Regions from separate parts of the Homo sapiens genome. Here regions 1, 2, 4 and 5 are each linked to region 3. The links are contacts of gene promoters, found by promoter capture Hi-C in blood cells and fetal thymus (Javierre and others, 2016). All regions are on one chromosome and are shown on one strand. The core of a region is centred on a gene start or on the middle of the fragment in contact, and the rest is flanking DNA. Distances in the headings are between cores, read along the strand shown. Region 1 overlaps TSHZ2 (teashirt zinc finger homeobox 2). Region 2 overlaps TSHZ2 (teashirt zinc finger homeobox 2). Region 3 holds the start of CYP24A1 (cytochrome P450 family 24 subfamily A member 1). Region 4 overlaps TSHZ2 (teashirt zinc finger homeobox 2). Region 5 overlaps ZNF217 (zinc finger protein 217).

What was found. Contacts are between HindIII fragments. The CHiCAGO score rates a contact against its expected background, and 5 or more counts as called.
Region 1: a fragment that was not itself captured here is called in contact with the fragment with the promoter of CYP24A1 in region 3 in 1 of 17 cell types (neutrophils); the score reaches 7.1 in neutrophils.
Region 2: a contact is called between a fragment that was not itself captured here and the fragment with the promoter of CYP24A1 in region 3, in 1 of 17 cell types (total CD8 T cells). The highest score is 5.7, in total CD8 T cells.
Region 4: a fragment that was not itself captured here is called in contact with the fragment with the promoter of CYP24A1 in region 3 in 1 of 17 cell types (neutrophils); the score reaches 5.1 in neutrophils.
Region 5: a fragment that was not itself captured here is called in contact with the fragment with the promoter of CYP24A1 in region 3 in 4 of 17 cell types (monocytes, megakaryocytes, neutrophils and 1 more); the score reaches 7.1 in monocytes.

Annotation. Positions count from the first base shown.
Region 1 is chr20:53,369,907-53,372,635 of GRCh38, reverse strand. The region is part of intron 2 of TSHZ2 (teashirt zinc finger homeobox 2); the gene reads right to left. Among named protein-coding and RNA genes, the nearest start is that of TSHZ2-AS1, 130 kb to the left of the region's middle. The HindIII fragment of the contact is 2,991 bases long and covers 1-2,729 here.
Region 2 is chr20:53,425,872-53,428,657 of GRCh38, reverse strand. All of the region lies in intron 2 of TSHZ2 (teashirt zinc finger homeobox 2), which reads right to left. Among named protein-coding and RNA genes, the nearest start is that of TSHZ2-AS1, 77 kb to the left of the region's middle. The HindIII fragment of the contact is 1,786 bases long and covers 616-2,401 here.
Region 3 is chr20:54,172,539-54,175,238 of GRCh38, reverse strand. CYP24A1 (cytochrome P450 family 24 subfamily A member 1) reads left to right here and starts at 1,253. Exons shown (of 12, transcript NM_000782.5): 1 at 1,253-1,917; 2 at 2,140-2,330. The coding sequence starts at 1,660. RefSeq lists an enhancer at 1,030-1,623. The HindIII fragment of the contact is 2,450 bases long and covers 1-2,435 here.
Region 4 is chr20:53,452,061-53,454,859 of GRCh38, reverse strand. All of the region lies in intron 2 of TSHZ2 (teashirt zinc finger homeobox 2), which reads right to left. TSHZ2-AS1 (TSHZ2 antisense RNA 1) reads left to right here. Exons shown (of 6, transcript NR_187667.1): 4 at 1,752-1,923. Among named protein-coding and RNA genes, the nearest start is that of TSHZ2-AS1, 51 kb to the left of the region's middle. The HindIII fragment of the contact is 859 bases long and covers 1,099-1,957 here.
Region 5 is chr20:53,566,803-53,569,502 of GRCh38, reverse strand. ZNF217 (zinc finger protein 217) reads left to right here. Exons shown (of 6, transcript NM_006526.3): 6 at 239-2,432. All of the region lies in intron 3 of ZNF217-AS1 (ZNF217 antisense RNA 1), which reads right to left. Among named protein-coding and RNA genes, the nearest start is that of ZNF217-AS1, 15 kb to the right of the region's middle. The HindIII fragment of the contact is 4,272 bases long and covers 1-2,700 here.

The DNA of each region.
Region 1 (2,729 bases), core at 56-2,555, 800 kb after region 3:
AGGAAAGATAGGAAAGTTAGAGTCACAGAGACAGGCAGATGGAAGAGACCTTGGAGACAAGAGAACTGGTATTGGGTGAATAAACTGGGTCCTTCCTTCCCTTCCTCCCTCCCTTCCTTCCTTCTTTCCTTCCTTCCTTTCTTCCTTCTTTATTTTTTTGAGACAAGATCTCACTCTGTCACCCAGGCTGGAGTGTAGTGGTGTGATCTCCGATCACTGCAACCTCTGCTTCTTGGGTTCAGGCGATTTTCCTATCTCAGCCTCCCGAGTGGCTGGGACTACAGGTGCGTGACACTACGCCTGGCTAATTTTTTCTTTTTTCAGTAGAGATGGGGTTTCACCATGTTGGCCAGGCTGGTCGCAAACTTCTGACCTCAAGTGGTCCGCCTGCCTTGACTTCCCAAAGTGCTAGGATTACGGCATGAGCCACTGCACTCGGCCTGAACTGAGTACTGACTGAAGAGAGTCACCTCAAAATTGATGGCCGTTTGGAACCTCAGAATGTGACCTTATTTGGAAATAGGGTCTTCCCATTTGTAATTAAGATGAGGTCAGACTCAATTAGGGTGGGCCCTAATTCAATGACTGAGGACACAGAAACACAGAGAAGGAGGCAGATATTGAGTGATGCTGCCACAAGCCGAGGGGCACCAGGGATTGTTGGGAGTCACGGGGAAGTTAGAGGCAGGAAGACTCCTTTTCTAGAGCCTTCTGAGGGAGCATGTCCTGCTGACTCTTTTTTTTTTCTTTTTTTTTTTTTTGAGACGGAGTCTCTCTCTGTAGTCCAGATTGGAGTGCAGTGGCATGATCCAGCTCACTGCAACACCCGCCTCCTGGGTTCAAGCAATTCTTGTACCTCAGCCTCTGGAGTAGCTGGGACTACAGGCATGTGCCACCATGCCCCGCTAACTTTTATATTTTTAGTAGAGATGGGGTTTCATCATGTTGGCCAGGCTGGTCTGAAACTCCTGGTCTCAAGTGATCCGCCCACTTCGGCCTCCCAAAGTGCTGGGATTATAGGCGTGAGCCACCCCCTCCTCCCCAGCTCCTGCTGACTTTTGATGGCAGACTCTGTCCTTCAGAACTGTGAGAGAGCACATTTCTGTTGCCCTGTGTCACCCAGTGTGTGGTCCTTCATACAGCCATCCCAGGAAACAAATACACCGCCTAACACTGTTCTGAAGACTAGAATGTGTCTGACTTGACCTGGGTCTTGCAGCCAGGACAATCCTGTTTGGAAACCCGTATGAACTCTCTCACATTCATCATTCACTTCCTGGAGAGACAGATTTTGTAAACTTTACAGAGCAGCTTTTAATCATTCGGTGGTTCCCAGATTCCTAGGCCAGAGTCTCTATACTGAATAATTTATAATAGAGGTCATATCCATCATGGTGGCTTGAATTCTGTCCTCCCAAGAACACAGGCTCAAGTCCTGACCCCTCCTACCTGTGAATGGGACCTTATTTGGAAATGGAGTCTTTGCAGGTGTAATTCAGTTAAGATGAGGTAGGCCCGAAAAGCAATGACTGACAGTCCTATAAGAAGAGAGGACGGAGACCCATGGAGAAAGCTGTTTGAACAAGGAAGCAGAAGCTGGAGCGATGCGGCCGCAACCCAAGGAACACCAGAAGCTGGAAGAGGCCAGGATGGGCTCATCCCTAGCATCTTCAGAGGGAGTGTGGCCTTGCCTTCACCTTGATTTCCAACCTCCAGCGTCCACAACTGCGAGAGAATTAATTTCTGCTGTTTTAAGCCACTGAGTTTGTAGTAATTTGTTATAGCAGCTCCAGGAAATGAACGTGCCATCCCTCAGCCAAACCCAACCCACAAATGTGTTTTATGGGCTCACGTGGTTTTGTTTTGTTTTTTGAGATAAGGTCTTGCCCTGTCGCCCAGGCTGGAGTGCAGTGTCATCATCACGGCTCACTGCAGCCTTGAACTCCTGGCCTCAACCGATCTTCCCACCTCAGCCCCCTGAGTATCTGGGACCACAGATGCATGCCACCATGCCTGGCTAATTTTTAAAAATTTTTTTGTAGAGATGGGGTCTTGCTATGTTGCCCAGGCTGGTCTCAAACTCCTGGGCTCAATCTATCCGTCTGCCTCGGTCTTCCAAAGTGCTGGGATCACAGGTGTGAGCCACAATGCCTGGCCTTGTTTAGTTTTTAATTAAAGCGGTTGCTAATATTTATGAACGGAGAGATTTAACATAAAAACCATGATTTCTGTTTCTTTTTGAAAAATTTGAGGCGGAGATGGTAACCCTGAGACTTTCCACGGAGAAACTGAGCAGGGCTGCTCTCCCTTCACAAAGAGCCTGCCCAGAGCAGCTCCCCAGGTCCCCTCCTCCGGGAAGTCCACCTGCCTGACTCCTTGGCTTTCCTCTCAGGCTTTCCATGTCCTTCATGCCCTCGTCGGCTCAGGATTCTTTAAAGCTGCTCTCTGAATTTTAGAGACTAGAAAAGTGAAACCCAGAAATAGAAATTCCTTGCCTACTGTCACCCAGCATGTCTGGAACAGAGGATGGCTGGGACACAGACTTCAGATTCCTGAACTTCCTACGACACCGTGACACTCCCACCTACAGAATGCCACCAGACGTCTCCTGACATTCCCAGACTTCTGGATTTCACAGATCAGATTAAAAAAAATTTCAAGGAATCGACACAATAACTTTCCAACACAAAGAACACTGCCTTACCATCTTTGCATTAAAGAAAGGCGTT
Region 2 (2,786 bases), core at 259-2,758, 750 kb after region 3:
TAGGATTACAATTTCCCATTTGTCTGTTCCATTCAGAAAATTAAAGTGTAATGCCAATGAGTTCATTGACCACCCTCATCCTTCAACAATGATTGGGAATAAGTTATCTGCAATTCATGACAATTGATTCAGAGTCTCAAGACCACACTTGGAAATTGTTTGTTCAGGGAATTCCTCAACCAGGAGTTCCCCAAACTGAAGCCACTTATACATCAAAGTGGGAAACTGTGATAAGGAAGACTGGATGGAGACAGAGCCAGAAAAGTGACTTAGAATTAGTGCCATGTTTTCTACAGAGAGCTATAATAATAATACACAGTGCCTTTCTTGGCACTTAAAGTACACAGTTAAGATTTCAGCACAATTGTTAAAGAAGGAGCTACACATCTCATTCACCAACGAGAAGACTGAGTTTGTGAAAGAGCTGCGGAGCAAATTCTCTAACTCCATTTCTGCATTTCCTAATTTGCTGACTTTCCACATGACCTGGGCCAGCCTAACAGATACTTCTCCTCCACATCATGCCCCCACAGAGACTTCTCATTCCTGGAATCAGTGCTGGAGAATGATTTGGACTGAGTCACTTAAAAATAGAGATGTTAGTTGGTGCAAGCTTTGTACAAAGCCTTTATCAGTAGAGTCCAGAGTGTGCCAAATCAGATAATTTGGATAAGTTAAAGGATTTCTGGAAGGCCACATGATCTCAGACCCATCTCGCCCATGTCCCCCTCCATGTTAGAGTCCTTAGTATTAATGTTTGAGAGACTTTTCTTAGTTGACCATCAATGCTGGGTGAGGGCTCTAGGCCTTCCATCCCTTTCTTAACATGCTTGAAGTTCTTGGAAGTCAGGATGCAGCTGGGATTCACTGGAGAAGACCATGGAAAGGCAGCAGTAAGTTGGGGGGCACATTGTATGAAGGACAAACATTCCCGGGAGGTGACCCTCTACTGCAGTGGATAGAGCTATTCACTTCAGACCCTCAAAATACATGGCTCTTATTCAAACTTAGCTATTTCTGTTCTCTATTTTGGATTCAGAAATCTGTGTCTTTGTGAGCCTCTTAGCTTCACATCCAACCACCCTGGGCTTGTTGCTTTCTCTAAAGTTGAAGAGAGGAAGCCAGGTGGAATTCCTTTTCTAGGTATACCTGCCTGCTCAAGTTAAAGATGAACTTCCACAGTTTTTTTCCCCCTACAGATTCTGGTGTTTAAGTCGACAGGGGTGGGTGGTGGGGGTGGGGATCTGGCATGCAACCCGGAAGGGTAGGAGAAACTGAAATCATACCTCGCGTCTCTCCACAAAGGTTTGATTCTCTTTATGAGTAGGATCCGCCAATCCGTAATCAAGGGTTAATTTCACAGCTCACTGCTTCATCTAGCATAATATCCATTCAGACTAATTAAATCTGTCTAATAATGTGAGTGTCTTTGTCTTTGTTCTTCCCCTTCTTTGTGCTACACCCTTCACATCTCATCTCCAGAACCACACGCCATCACACTCTACTTGACAAGCAGAATCCATCCCTAAAATTAAAACATTCCTGACCTATCTGCAATGACAAGGCAGGCGAGCTTCACGGCGCTCCAGCCCATGAAGGGAGCTGACACATTTGTTTTTAATTTCAAAAGAGTAGAAAGTGAAGATCTGACCCCGTCAATCAAGCCCTGTGACAAGTTTAATCATTGGTGCCCCACAAAAATCACGGCTAAATAGGAATGCAAATACTGTATCACAGGGCTCTTATAAATGCTAATCAAGGAGAAGTAATCAACTGACAATTTCACTGATCTCTTTTCTGAAGAAGTCACTCAATGCTCTGTCTCTGGGCCACAAAGAGAAGAGAAAAAGACAAAAGGGATGTATGAGCTTCCCCTCCACCTTCCTTTTATTTTTCCTTCCAGGACATTTCTTTCTAAAGAGAGAATTCTCTCTTTTGATCCATCATTGAACTTTAAAGCAAAGAACTTACGCAGTTATATGTCAAGTATACTTTATTAGCAGTACCCAGGCTGGGCAGAAAACGCGCTGAAACTTCCGCTAAAATAAAAATCATCATTTATCTTTGTCATTAATCTGTTCTCAAATTCTCTTATATCTTAAAAGTGACTGACCTTCTCTGTTAAGAGGGGGAGGGAAAAAAAGTTTGATAAGTAGTCAAAAATCTGAAAATTGTGATCACCGTAACTTAAAAAAAGAAGAAGAGGAAGAAGAAAATTCCCTGTAAAAACATAAGCCATAGTTGATAAAGAATTTATAACCACCAAGAAGTTCTGAGCCAAGGGTCTCCCCCAGTCACCTTCTCCAATGGTTGACTGCTTAGGGAGAGAGGACAGAAATTAGAGGCCTATTTTTCATGTTCAATTTTACACAGGACCTGAGGGCTTTGTATTTCCAAAGCTTACAACTTGAGGACTTTCCTCTTTCTTCTTCTCCATTTTATTTTTTAACCAGGAAGTCCTGAAGCAATCAAAATCATTGGTTACTTCCTACCGTAAACAACCCTTTCATGAAGTCATAGCAGGAAAAGAAAAAAAGCCAGCACTCAGTTACTCGGAGTTTGTCCTCCCCTGTTTATCCTGGGCTAGGTAAACAGAACATTCCAGAAGTTCAGATATTGGTAGATTAATTCCTATAGTGGTAACTGAACTGAGTTCCCAATATCGAGGGTAATTTCTTTCATCTTAAGGATAGAAAAGTGGGAATTTATGGGTTTTTTTGGAGACAGCAGGAATTCCCTTTTTTGTCATGTTCTATGTAAGGGAGGGATGGACCAAATTCAGCCTG
Region 3 (2,700 bases), core at 4-2,503:
AAGATTTTTAAGAAACAAACTAGAGGCTTACAAAAGAATTTACCAGGGAAGGATTTGCCAACACTTGGGGCAAAAATGACTGAGACACGTAATTGAAAAGCAGGGCGAGGAAACAGAATGTCCCTCCCCTCCTCCCTGGCTGGTGGTAGTTTTGTATTGGATCAGGTTGAAAGGATTCGAGCCACTTTAAAACAATCAACAAAAATCTCCAACTTCCGTTCCTGAATTAGCAAAGCGAGTTCTACTCTTGCCAGCCGCGGTAACTCTAGAAATTGTGTATGTTTGTCACTGGACCTGCCTAGGACGCACCTTGGGGGAGAGGGGGAGTACTGGGGGCGGTGGTTTCAAGCTCTGTGTGCCCCTCCTTTGCACAAGGTAGTCGGTGTAGAAGAACAGAGGCGGGCAGTGGACATAGGGGAGGTGGCCCAGCCTGAATTCAAGCATCGTTGGTGCAAGCCACGCTCTCAAGGCGCATTTCCTAACTTCCTAAAGAAGTAACAACAGCAACTAACTTTTATTGACTGTTGACTATAGACAAGGCTTCGTTGTTGCCGCTTTACGTGCATTAATTCATTTAATCTGCAAAACAACCAAACATGAAACAGCAGGAAGGAAATTCTACAAACTCCCCTTCTTGCTCAAGTTAAGAAAGTCTCCTCTTCTGGTGCATTTCAGTAAGACTCAAATCCTCCCCACCCTGGGAGGCGCAGAAAGCCAAACTTCCTCCAAAAAAAAAAAGGCAAAAAAAAAAAAAAAATCACTTCAGTCCAGGCTGGGGGTATCTGGCTCCCCGGGAGGCGCCCGGGCTCCCCGGGGCCCTGGCAGACGCCGGCAGCTTTTCTGGGCCCGCACTCGGGGACCTCGCCCGCCCGGCATCGCGATTGTGCAAGCGCCGGGCGGCAACCACGGCCGCCGCTGCCGGCTCCTGCCCGCCGGGGGAGGGCGGGGAGGCGCGTTCGAAGCACACCCGGTGAACTCCGGGCTTCGCATGACTTCCTGGGGGTTATCTCCGGGGTGGAGTCTGCCGCCCCCACCCCACCTCCCGCGCCCAGCGAACATAGCCCCGGTCACCCCAGGCCCGGACGCCCTCGCTCACCTCGCTGACTCCATCCTCCTTCCACCCCCCCTCCCCTGGGTCCCGCGTCCCTCGGAGTCTGGCCAGCCGGGGGCCACTCCGCCCTCCTCTGCGTGCTCATTGGCCACCCAGGGCATGCTCTGTCTCCATAAATGCATGGTCCCTGGGCATAGGAACATGGAGAGGGACAGGAGGAAACGCAGCGCCAGCAGCATCTCATCTACCCTCCTTGACACCTCCCCGTGGCTCCAGCCAGACCCTAGAGGTCAGCCTTGCGGACCAACAGGAGGACTCCCAGCTTTCCCTTTTCAAGAGGTCCCCAGACACCGGCCACCCTCTTCCAGCCCCTGCGGCCAGTGCAAGGAGGCACCAATGCTCTGAGGCTGTCGCGTGGTGCAGCGTCGAGCATCCTCGCCGAGGTCCTTTCTGCTGCCTGTCCCGCCTCACCCCGCTCCATCACACCAGCTGGCCCTCTTTGCTTCCTTTTCCCAGAATCGTTAAGCCCCGACTCCCACTAGCACCTCGTACCAACCTCGCCCCACCCCATCCTCCTGCCTTCCCGCGCTCCGGTGTCCCCCGCTGCCATGAGCTCCCCCATCAGCAAGAGCCGCTCGCTTGCCGCCTTCCTGCAGCAGCTGCGCAGTCCGAGGCAGCCCCCGAGACTGGTGACATCTACGGCGTACACGTCCCCTCAGCCGCGAGAGGTGCCAGTCTGCCCGCTGACAGCTGGTGGCGAGACTCAGAACGCGGCCGCCCTGCCGGGCCCCACCAGCTGGCCACTGCTGGGCAGCCTGCTGCAGATTCTCTGGAAAGGGGGTCTCAAGAAACAGCACGACACCCTGGTAAACCCCTTTTCGCGCCCCTGACTCTCTCCTCCCTCTTCCGCCCTCCCAGTGGCGCTCCAAACCCTCCCCGACATGCGCGCCTCGGGCGCATGGTGCGCTTCGGCGTCTGGGCAGGGAGGGTCCCCGGTCCCCTAGGAGGAAGGAGGCGGGAGGAGGGAAAGCGCTTCGGGCACGGCGGAGGATGCGCGCTGACACCGCGCTGTGCCCGGCCGGCTGCAGGTGGAGTACCACAAGAAGTATGGCAAGATTTTCCGCATGAAGTTGGGTTCCTTTGAGTCGGTGCACCTGGGCTCGCCATGCCTGCTGGAAGCGCTGTACCGCACCGAGAGCGCGTACCCGCAGCGGCTGGAGATCAAACCGTGGAAGGCCTATCGCGACTACCGCAAAGAAGGCTACGGGCTGCTGATCCTGTGAGTCCAATCCGAGGGACCTGGGCATGCGGCCAGACCTGATGAGCCTGACGGCGCCTGGAAATTGTGAAGAGGCGGAGTTAGAGTTCCCTGGGGTTGGAAGCTTCTTACGTAGGGCGGATACCAAAGCCCCTCTCCCGTGCCATCGCAACCCTGAGCTCTTGTACAGATTAGAGTCGGTCCACGGAAAAGCCGTGCTGTGCACCCAGCACCTGCGTTCTCTCTGGCAACAGGGCAGGGCCACACCCTCCCATCAAAGAAACGCCAAAACAGGGTTGTACCAACTGTGGTGTTCAGACTCTTGGGCAGGATGAGGTTCTGAAGTCAGCGTACCAGGCAAACATCTTATACAAACAAAATTATCCCTTAA
Region 4 (2,799 bases), core at 279-2,778, 720 kb after region 3:
TTGATACTGTCTGCAAGGCCTGAGGGTAGGTTTCCAGAGAAAGGAGCTCAGATAAGACAAATGAAACTTTCTCAAATTGACTGGGAGAGTCAATTTCTATGTTTACTCAAAAGAAACCATAACCATCCATTCTATGGGACAATTGGGAGGGTTTCAGTTCTGATGGGGCTACTTTGAGAAAGGGGAGAGGGAGCCCTCTCTGAGGGAGTGACATCTGAATGAAGACCTGAAGGATGGGAAAGGGACAGCCACATTAACACATTTAACATTAGTTTTTAAAGACTTTTTTTTTTTTTTTGAGACCAAGTTTCACTCTGTCACCCAGGCTGGAGTGCAGTGGTACGATCTCAGCTCACTGCAACCTCCACCTCCTGGGTTCAAGTGATTCTTCTGTCTCAGCCTCCCGAGTAGCTGGGACTACAGGCACGTGCCACCATGCCCGGCTAATTTTTGTATTTTTAGTAAAGATGGGGTGTCACCATATTGGCCAGGCTGGTCTCAAAATCCTGACCTCGTGATCTGCCTGCCTTGGCCTCCCAAAGTGCTGGGATTACAGGTGTGAGCCACCACGCCTGGCCTTTAAAGACATTTTAAAGGGCTCCACGGGTTTCATCAGACAGCCAAAGAAGTCCACAGCCTAAGACAGTTAAGCAGTTTTGTGGCCTAAAGAAACCAAGGGTCCTCTAAGTCTAGCAGTTCTTAATCTTGGATGAGCATCACAGAAAGGTTGGTGAAGCCTGGAATTTTCAGTAGCAATTGTCACTCAAGTTGTTTAAGTTTATGGCAAAGACAAGAGATGACATTGTAAGCAGAATTTAGCATTTTGGTGCATGTGTGTATATGAAGTTATAGGTAGACTTGATTTTCCTGGAGAGAGAATCTGTAGCTCTCATGATATTTTCAAAAAGGCTCTTGACCCAAGTAGGAGTTCAGAGCCACCATTCTAGAAGAAGAGGTCCTAGGATGGTGACTTCTTCCAAACCAGTCTGTCATTCCCAGGAATAGTCCCAAACATGTAGCCTGATTACTGTTTGGAGAATTCCATTTCTCTGGGCATCCCTCTCCTACCCTGGCCTATTTTCAAGCAAATCTAAAGCTTCGAGTTTGTCCAAAATCAAGAAGATTTCCTACAAGAGGCTAAATGAGTGGTCACAGAAATGTTTGTATGAAGGATTCCCCCAATATCTGCTTTTATGTGAGAAGGGAGAGCCAGCGGCTCCCTACGTTAATCTTCATTATCACATAAGTGGCTTTTCCCCTCCTGGTTTTAAATTAAGATACCCTGGACATTTTGCTTTGCTTCCACTCCACACACAATCACACGATGGAGCATTGTAATTAAACCTCCTCTATTATTAGAGCACAGGAAAAAAAAATTCATGGCTGGTCTGAAGGACCCCAAGCTAGGAAAGAGAAAGGTAAACATTTAATTTGTTGTTGTTTCTATAAATCAGGGCCCAGTCATCAATTTCACCACATATTTGAGAGCACATGTTATTGACAATGTGTTCGTAGAGAAAAATGGAGTTTGCTGGCAAAGTTGTTCCAGTTTCTAAAGATTAAATTGTTCATTGTACAGGCCGCCATCTGCCCTCCCTGGAAGATATTTAGTTGTTGGCAGAGGCATTCAAAGTCTAGAAGACAAAGTTAAATTTCATTTTCTTTATTGCTATGCCTAACCAAAGGCGAATTCATTCATTCATTCATCAGTTCATTCAATATTTACCAAGTGTCTCTTTTGTGCCATACAGACGAATAAAGTCAGACAGCTTCCAAGGAGTGGATGCTTATGGAGAGATCACATGGAGCCTTGTAGCTGATTTATAATCTCATGGTCCTCATTCATACATCAAACCCCTGAAGGCCTGGCATTTTTATCTCCCGACTCAACCTGCATGCTACCAGAAGCTCGACAAAATTACGGTGAATAAGACATGCTTCTTCCCTTCAAGAAGCTTCTAGTCAATGGAGGATATGTAAGGCAGCAATCTAACAGCAATACAACACTAAACGTTCCTTGAGAAAAACACAAACAACAGGCAGAACTCATGTCTGAGTAGAAGCTTCTTAGAAGAACTGAGTAGAACTTGGAAGAAACATGTACCTCCTTCACACACATAATATTGTTTTATACTATGCTATCTTGTTGTAGGGGTACGTGTTGATATATAACCCCATTTTGCATGTGAAGTCAATGGGCTCAGTGGGCTCAGAGAGATACAGTGATTGATTTGTTCTAGTTCCTTTTTTTTTTTTTTTTTGAGACAGAGTCTCACTGTGTCACCCAGGCTAGAGTGCGGTGGCTCAATCTTAGCTCACTGCAGGCTCCACCTCCCAGGTTCAAGCAATTCTCTGCCTCAGCCTCCCGAGTAGCTGGGATTACAGGTACACTTTACCATGCCCAGCTAATTTTTGTATTTTTAGTACAGATGGGGTTTCACCACGTTGGCCAGGCTGGTCTTGAACTCCTGACCTCAAGTGATTTACCTGCCTCGGCCTCCCAAAGTGCTGGGACTACAGGCGTGAGCCACCACGCTTGGCCTGCTCTAGTTCTTGTAGGTAATAAGAGATGGTGTTAAATTCCTGTAACTAATAAGAGATGGGCTCAAATTCTCCCTTGAACTCTAAGTCTGGCCCCTGGGCCACATAAAGTAGGTCCTCTAAGCCCCTTACACTGTGCACAGTTCAGCCCTAAGCCACTTGCCTAGACCCATTGCATGAACTGCAGCTGAAGCTGCTCCTGTCCCCTTCATTAGTCATCTGGGGTTACTGACTTCCCTTTGTTCTTCACACTTGATG
Region 5 (2,700 bases), core at 159-2,658, 610 kb after region 3:
GCTGAGGCAGGAGAATCGCTTGAACCTGGGAGGTAGAGGTTGCAGTGAGCCAAGATCGTGCCGCTGCACTCCAGCCTGGGCGACAGAGTGAGACTGTCTCAAAAACAACAACAACAAATAGAACCCATTGCATTTCTAGGTCAGTTTGGTTCTATGTATTACGCTTTTTTAAAGAAAGAATTTTCTAAACTGTATTCAGTTTTGATCTTAATCATTTAAAAAATGTTGTTTTCCTTAGGTCTTGGTGGATGTCAGTGCTTACTCCCCATGAAATTAAATTTTACTTCATCCTTTGAGAAGCGAATGGTGAAAGCTACTGAAATAAGCTGTGATTGTACTGTACATAAAACATATGAGGAATCTGCAAGGAACACTACAGTTGTGTAAAGTTGTTCTGTTAACTTTTGTACCAAATAGCAATACAAACTAGTTGGAACAGTTGGAACTTACATACATGGGGACTGGAAATCTCTATTTTGTCCCTGAATAATATTTTTCTTAGAATTGACCAAATAAGAAGTGGAATTTTTGCATACTTGAGCGCTGCTGAAAAGAAATCATTTGGGTTGGGTGGGGCGGGATGGGGGAAAAGTATATAATGCTTGCACCTCAGGTAAAAATCTGTAAATATCTAAGTTGTAAACCTGCTTGTTCAAATACTGTGTGTATTCCTTTTCTCTAATGCAGCTCATCACTTGGAGCAGTTTCTGCTATTGTGCTCTTTCATTTAAAATGTATGTTTTTTTTTTTTTAAACTGTCAATGATTTTGTATTATGTTGAATCCACCCAAATCTATTGTTGTCTTAAAATTGTTAATGGAAGTATTGACCCTCTATGATATGTGCTGCAGATATCGAGGTCAGCCATTCGGAAGCTGGCAGCATTTTATCGCAACTTTGAGCATCTCAGATGGGGAAGGCACCTTCTTCCTCGCCTCTCCAGATTGTCCTGGAACCTCCAGGATCCTTGACTGAGGGCGTTGGGATGGCTTGTAGGATTTTTAAGAGAGTGTGTCTACAGACAAGCATTTTCTCTGTAGAGCAGCCACACGTTGTATAAACATAAACTGTATGTGCAGTTATTTAAATTTGTTTCTGTCAAATTAATCATTTTTGTTGGACGATTCAGTGGCGGGGGGGTTTTGCCTAAATTAGTATATAAAAACAAAAATGCTAAATTATATCTGTGAATTGCAGGTATTGGGGAACAGTTTTAAGGGAAATTTTGGGGGGAACATTTTAGGTTTGTATTTGGTAGTCTTAATGTATCTGGCATTTGGGTGAACTGTGGACATACTAGAGTTGATTATAGACACATTGATTTTGAATAAGGAACTGCTGGCCGAGCCCGCTGGGAGTCTAGAAAGAGAAAATCTGTTTCTAGACCTCAGTTATTTTCCCATTTTTGGTTGTTTTGAAGCAGTAACATTTTTCTCAGTGCACATGCAATTTGGGTTTTAGAGAAGATGGCCACCAGCTGGCTTCCTAGATATTTTAAACTTTTGTTCTTTAATATGCTGTCCATGGCTGAGTTTATTAGTACATGGGCTTAGTGACCACAAAATATTTTATTAAGAAACTGTTTCAAAAATAAATTTGCACTGTTCATTTTTCTGGCCTCGCTGTTCTCCATAGAGCAAGGGTAATCCTAGAAAAAATTTTTTTTTTTTAAATTATGCAACGTAAGATGTCCTCCTTGATAGAAGTCTTAGCTCCTGTGTTACAAGGGAGAACTCATTTGAGATCAGTCTGTTGGCATTGCAATGAAGTGCTTTGTATCAGGAAAGTGTACACTATTGACCTTTTTTCCTGTTCACAAGCTGAGCCATATGTACATAATCTAGATTTTGTTTTCATAGTTTTGCACTTTTATAGCCTATTTTTGAAGATTAACACATTTGCAAGATGATTGACTCAATCTTTGCCTAATCCAATGAGTGTTACAGAGAGCTTGCTGTGACTAGAACCATAAATCTTAAAGGGGGTATGTGATAATAGAGGGCTGGAATTTAAACCTGTATTTAAAAAAAAGAATCACCAAATCTATTTGAAAACAAGTCGATTTGTATTATGCTGGAATTTTTTGGGCTTTCAGATTTCTCTTTTTAACCACATTTCTGAATGTATAAAAATACCAATTATTTTCCTACAGCCCTTTGTACTTCAAAATATGTTTTTGTGTCCATCAGTATTAACTATTGGTATACTACTGGTTTTATATTTTTTTTTCTTTGAGACAACAGTACATATAATAGAGGTACAATTCGTTGGATTTTTGTTTATGTATTTATTTCATTCCAGTTTGATTTATTTTAATTGTTGATACTTAAGTTGTCGAACAGTAGACATTACTTGTTTTATTTATGATATATTTCAGCTTAAAGTTATGTTATTATATGTGGAAGTGTAAATATAGATTTGGTGTTTTGCAATCTTGAGTTTTAGTGTTTATTGTGTTTCTGGTTTCTGATTTTGTTTTATTTAACTTTTTAGTTTTCTTTCTTTTTTTTTTTTTTGAGATGTGCTCCTGCTCTGTCACTCAGGCTGGAGTGCAGTGGTGCAATCACAGCTCACTGCAGCCTTGAACCCCTGGGCTCAACTGATCCTCCAGCTCTCGGCCTCCCGAGTATCGAGCCATCATGCCTGGCTTATAAACACAATTTTAAGGCCAGCACGTGGCTCACGCCTGTAATCCCAGCC